Linked DNA regions of Homo sapiens: region 2 is linked to region 1. Evidence: promoter capture Hi-C in human tissues and cell types (Jung and others, 2019). All regions are on one chromosome and are shown on one strand. The core of a region is centred on a gene start or on the middle of the fragment in contact, and the rest is flanking DNA. Distances in the headings are between cores, read along the strand shown. Region 1 holds the start of ZNF648 (zinc finger protein 648). Region 2 has its middle 54 kb from the start of ZNF648.

What was found. Contacts are between HindIII fragments. The study calls those that stand out against the background at their distance.
Region 2: a fragment that was not itself captured here is called in contact with the fragment with the promoter of ZNF648 in region 1 in 1 of the 25 tissues and cell types used here (small bowel).

The regions. Positions count from the first base shown.
Region 1 is chr1:182,060,008-182,063,296 of GRCh38, reverse strand. It overlaps ZNF648 (zinc finger protein 648), which reads left to right and starts at 1,585. Exons shown (of 2, transcript NM_001009992.1): 1 at 1,585-1,729. The HindIII fragment of the contact is 24,066 bases long and covers 1-3,289 here.
Region 2 is chr1:182,006,645-182,009,729 of GRCh38, reverse strand. No RefSeq gene overlaps it. Among named protein-coding and RNA genes, the nearest start is that of ZNF648, 54 kb to the left of the region's middle. The HindIII fragment of the contact is 4,816 bases long and covers 1-3,085 here.

The DNA.
Region 1 (3,289 bases), core at 336-2,835:
ACCATTGTGGAAGACAGTATAGCGATTCCTCAAAGATTTAGAACCAGAAATACCATTTGATCCACAATCCCATTACTGGGAATATACCCAAAGGAATATAAATAATTCTATTATAAAGATACATGCATGCATATGTTCAATGCCGCACTATTCACAATAGCAGACTTGGAATCAACCCAAATGCCCATCAATGATAGACTGGATAAAGAAAATGTGGTATATATACACCATGGAATACCATGCAGCCATAAAAAGGAACAGGATCATATCCTTTGCAGGGACAGGGATGGAGCTGGAGGCATTATCCTCAGCAAACTGGCAAAGGAACAGAAAACCAAACACCGCATGTTCTCACTTATAAATGGGAGCTGAACAGTGAGAACACATGGACACAGGGAGGGGAACAACACATATTGGGGCCAGTTGGGGGAGTGCGGGGTGGAGAGAGCATCAGGAAAAATAGCTAATGCATGCCGGGCTTAATACCTAGGTGAAGGAAGGGTTGATAGGTGCAGCAAACCAGCATGGCACATGTTTACCTATGTAACAAACCTGCATATCCTGCACATGTATCCCGGAACTTAAAATTTTTAAAAATCGTCAATAATAACAATGAAAGCAGCTAACGTTTTTGGGTACTTGCTATGTTCCAAACACCGAACTAAGCTCCTTACATGCATTATCTCATTTAATACTCCCCAAACTTCCATGATGGCAATAGTATCCTGGTCCCTGTTTTGCAGATGAGACACTAAGGCACACAGAGGTTAAATAACTTGCCCAAGATCACACAGCTAGTAAGTAGTAAGATTCAAACCCAGACCCAGACCGTGCTGTCAATCAGTATACTTTGTGACCACCTAGTGACATCACAGGAACCACACTTCCATCACCTATTTTAATGCCCTGAATGTTCATCCTAATAAATGCACATTAGACTTGAGTGGGTAAAAATTCTGAATGTACTGAGTCTTCTACCTTGGGCCAATCCTTCTCTTCAAAATGAACCTGCATGGGAATCAATGCTGAAAGTGGAAAGAGACCCCAGACAGGCCTGGCATCTGTATGCATAAGACAGAAAACCATCTCCCTGCACCCCTACTCCCAGTTAAAAGGCTGTGGGCATCTTTGAGCCAATGAATGGGCTGCTACAAAGAATTCTGGGAATCCCAACCCCTCACAGTTCTGCAACTCACAGTCCTGCAAAAGGTGGGTACTAGAATAGGGAGGTGGGCATATAGGCCAAATACTCTGTTCTGCCTTCCAGGAGGGAAAAAGCATGCTACCCAGGAAGCTCACAAGTGACATGTGGCCCATGGGCATACCAGGGCTAAAGTGAAGGATGGACTGCTCTGTGGAAGGAAGGAGTGAAAGTGAACAAGAGGCATAGGGCCACCTGCAGGAAGACTGAGAGGAGGGAAGGAGGAAGGCTGGCTTTGGCAGGGAGGGGAGGCAGGAGCAGAGGGAGCCAGAGGATCGGTTCAGGCAGTGAGAGAGGGCAGCCCCACTCTATTTCCCAGGCTGCTCTCTGGATGCAGGCAGGAAGGTTGAGTGTATTACACTGGCCCCACCTCCAGAGGCTCTCTCTGCAGCCGCTGGACTGGACACAAAGCGTGAGAGACAGAGACACCATCTCTGCTGATTTGTACCTAACTGGTTCCTGTTGCTGAGAGCCCACGTGTCACAGAAGCCAGGGCAGAGGCCCCACACTGCTGTCTGCATTTCCCAGGTAAGCAACCGTCTGTGTGTGAGCCAGGAGTGGAGAGCAAGGCCTGAAGGCGGTGAGCAGAGAAGAAAGTAGGAGGCGGCTGCCTAGGATGGACTTCAGTACAATCTGGAAAGAATGAAGGAAAGAAGAGGGGTATGGGCTGGGGTTGCAACAAGCCCTTAGGGTAGGCTTCTGCAGAGTGTTGATGGATGTATGAGGTTGGGGAGTCAAAGGCTGCATTTGGTCCACTCTTGGCTGGCAAGTGCAGAGGAAGTTCCAGCAAAGGACTGCTCTGACAGCCTCTGGGGACTAGCACATCTGGGGAGCAGAGAGGCCCGCCATACCATGGCATCAGTGTTCCTCTTTCAGACCAGGTATATTTGTGCAGACTTTGCCAGAAAATCCCTCCCTGTGCCCCTGCCTGCCTCCAGGTCTTCCTGGTGGTCGAGAGCATGCGTGTGGCAGCGACAGGAGGAAGAAAGCAGGACATATTCACTGGGGATATGGCTTCAGATGGAGGAGGGATACCTCATCTGAAAAGAGAGTCTCCTGACGGGCTCTGGAGAGGAGATTGGTTAGCTAGTGGAGGGCTGTGTGCCACCCTAAGGAGGCTCCCCTGTGGCCCAGAGGAAAAGAATGACACACAGACTGTGGAAAATGGGGTATTTGTGCTGGAGGTGGGGTGGGGAGCGGGTAAAGTCAGTGATCTGTGAACAGTGCCACAGAAACAGGCAGTATGTTGTCGTAAAGAGGGAAAGAGACCTAAGACATGTGTTTCATACAAATCCAGCATCCCTTTGCTGTCCCTGCTGGGGGACCTACAGCCCCGGATCAAGCCTGCTGGTCTGAGCAAGTTCTATGAGGTTGGCTAGTGGTATGTCCCCTCTATGAACTACACATTCACTCCCTAAGATCCACTATGCTGAAAATATGTCAGATCTGGGCTCCTGTCAAAAGGCATGCCAGCTACCCTCTGCCATGTGATGGGTGAGGGAAGCAGTGAGAGAAGAGGAGTGGTCCCTGGGCTTTAGGGCACAAAGAGACGTGAGATGCTGAATTCCAGTCACAACTGCAATGTGTCCTCCCTCCATCCATGGCTTCTGTATCCAGAGCAGAAAGTGAGGATTCCTCCATACTGCTCCCTCTTCATACACACAGGGTAACTGGGCTCATGATCAGGCAGAAACCAGGGAAGAACAGTTTAATGAGATGGGGATAGGGTTAACTGTACCAGCCAAATACAAAGATCACTCCTTTTATCCAGTCTGAGATGGCAGTGAAAGGTGGGCAGAGGTAGAGAGAAGGAGCTTTCAGAAGGTAAATACTCAGTGACTAATACTCTTGAGCACCACAGGCAGTGGCCTCTGCAACATGGGTCCTGGCTCTGATGGGCAGCCACTGGCCTCTCTCTTTGGCGGAGGGCAATCTGGGTCAATGAAAGCAGGGAGGAGCCCAGCAGTGAGGCCCTGTAGCCAAGGTTCCTTGGCCCAGAAAACACAAGGGGCTTTGATGCCTGCAGAAAGCCACGGCTTTTCACCCCAGGATGCTGCAGCTGCTCTTGGGCAGAGCCCAGCCCCAGAG
Region 2 (3,085 bases), core at 497-2,996, 54 kb after region 1:
ATTGGTTTGTGTCATCTGTGATTTCTTTCAGCAGTGTTTTGTAGTTTTCCTTGTAGAGGTATTTCACCTCCTTGGTTAGGCATATTTCTAGGTTGGTTTTTTTTTCAGCTATTATTAAAGGGGTGACTTTTGTATTTGATTCTCAGCTTGGTTACTGTTGGTGCATAGCAGAACTACTGATTTGTGTACATTAATTTTTTATCCCGAAATTTTGCTAAATTCATTTATCAGTTCTAAGAGCTTTTTGGAGGAGTCTTTATGATTTTCTAGGTATATGAGCATATCATCCACAGACAGCAACAGTTTGACTTCCTCTTCACCAATTTGGATGCCCTTTATTTTTTTCTCTTGTCTGATTGCTCTCGCTAGGACTTCTAATACTATGTTGATTAGAAGTAGTGAGAGTGGGCGTCCTTATTCCAGTTCTCGGGAGGAGTGCTTTCAACTTTATTCAGTGTTATGTCAGCTGTGGGTTTGTCATAAATGGCTTTTATTACATTAAGATATGTCCCTTCTATGCCAATTTTGCTGAGGGTTTTAATCATAAAGGGATGCTGGGTTTTGTCAAATGCTTTTTTTTGCATCTATTGAGATGATAATGTGATTTTTGTTTTTAATTCTGTTTATGTGGTGTATCACATTTATTGACTTGCATATGTTAAACCATCCCTGAATCCCTGGTATGAAACCCACTTGATCATGTTGGATTATCTTTTAGATATGCTGTTGGATTCAATTCACTAGTATTTTGTTAAGGATTTTTGCATCTATATTCATTAGGGATAGTGGCCTGTAGTTTTCTTTTTCTGTTATGTCCTTTCCTGGTTTTGGTATCAGGGTGATACTGGCTTCATAGAATAATTTAGGGAGTATTCCCTCTTTATCTTGTGGAATAGTGTCAATAGGATTGGTACCAACTATTCTTTGAACATCAGACAGAATTCAGCACCAGCTGTGAATCCATCTGGTCCTGGACTTTGTGTGTGTGTGTGTGTGTGCGGCAATTTTTAAATTACCATTTCAGTCTTGCTGCTTGTTATTGGTGTGGTCAGAGTTTCTATTTCTTGCTGGCTTAATCTAGGAGGGTTGTGTATTTCCAGGAATTTATGTATCTCCTCTAGGTTTTCTAGTTTATACACATAAAGGTGTTCATGGTAGCCTTGAATGATCTATTTCTGTGGTATCAGTTGTGATATCTCCTGTTTTGTTTCTAATTGAGCTTATTTGGATCCTCGCTCTTCTTTTCTTGGTTAATCTCACTAATGGTCTATCAATTTTATTTATCTTTCCAAAGAACAAGCTTTTTGTTTCATTCGTTTTTTGTATTTTTTGTTTGTTTATTTCAGTTTCATTTAGTTCTGCTCTGATCTTTGTTATTTCTTTTCTTCTGCTGTGTTTTGGTTTGGTTTGTTCTTGTTTCTCCAGTTTCTTGAGGTGTGACCTTAGATTGTCTATTTGTGCTCTTTTAGACTTTTTGATGTAGGCACTTAAAAATATAAACTTTCCTCTTAGCACTGCCTTTGCCATTTCCCAGAGGTTTTGATAGGATGTGTCACTATTATCTTTCAGTTCAAAGAATTTTCAAATTTCCATCTTGATTTCATTTTTGATCCAATGATCATTTAGGAGCAGGTTATCTAATTTCCATATATTTGCTGGTTTTTAGGGTTCCTTTTAGAGATAATTTCCATTTTTATTCCACTGTGGTCTGAGAGAGTACTTGGTAGAATTTTCTTATATTTATTGAGACTTGTTTTGTGGCCTATCATGTGGTCTATTTTGGAGAATGTTTCATGTGCTAATGAATAGAATGTATATTCTGCAGTTGTTAGGTAGAATGTTCTGTAAATATCTATTAAGTGCATTTGCTCTAGGGTATAGTTTATTTTTATTTTATTTTAATTTTTTTATTTTTTTTGAGTCGGAGTCTCACTCTGTCACCCAGGCTGGAGTACAGTGGTGTGATCTTGGCTCACTGCAACTCCGCCTCCCATGTTCAAGCAATTCTCCTGTCTCAGCCTCCTGAATAGCTAGGATTACAGGCATGCACCACCATGCCCAGCAAATTTTAGTATCTTTAGTAGAGACAGGATTTCACCATGTTGACCAGGCTGGTCTCGAACTCCTGACCTCAAATGATCCACCCTCCTTGGCCTCCCAAAGTGCTGGGATTGCAGGTGTGTGAGCCGCTGTGCCCGGCCTGTTCTAATGTATAGTTTAAGTCCATTGTTTCTTTGTTGACTTTCTGTCTTGATGACCTGTCTAGTGCTGTCAGTGGAGTACTGAAATCCCCACTATTATTGTGTTGCCATCTATCTCATTTCTTAGGTCTAGTAGTAATTGTTTTATAAATTTGGGAGCACCAGTGTTAGGTGCATATAAATTTAGGATTGTGATATTTTCCTGTTGAACTACAAATTTTGTCATTATATAATGTCCCTTTTTGTCTTTTTAAACTGTTGTTGCTTTAATGTTCCTTTTTTCTGATATAAGAATAGCTACTTCTGCTTGGTTTTGGTGTCCATTTTCATGGAATATTTTTTTTTCACTCCTTTAAGTTTTTGTGAGTCTTTATTTGTTAGGTGAGTCTCTTGAAGATAGCACATACATGGTTAGTGAATTCTTATCCATTCTGCCATTCTGTGTCTTTTAAGTGGAGCATTTAGGCCATTTACTTTCCATGTTAATATTGAGATGTGAGGTACTTTTCTATTCATCATGCTAGTTGTTGTCTGAATACCTTGTTTTGTTTTCATTTTATTATTGTTTTATAGGCCCTGTAAGATTTATGCTTTAAGGAGGTTCTATTTTGGTGTATTTCAAGGATTTATTTCAAGACTTAGAGCTCCTTTTAGCAGTTCTTGTAGTATGGGCTTAGTAGTGGTGAATTCTCTCAGCATTTGTTTTTCTGAAAAAGACTGTATCTTTCCTTTATTTATGAAGCTTAGTTTCACTGTATACAACATTCTTGGCTGATAATTGTTTTGTTTAAGGAGGCCAAAGATAGGACCCCAATCCCTTCTAGCTTGTAGGGTTTCTCTTGAGAAATCTCCTGTTAATCTGATAGGTCTTCCTTTATAGGTTA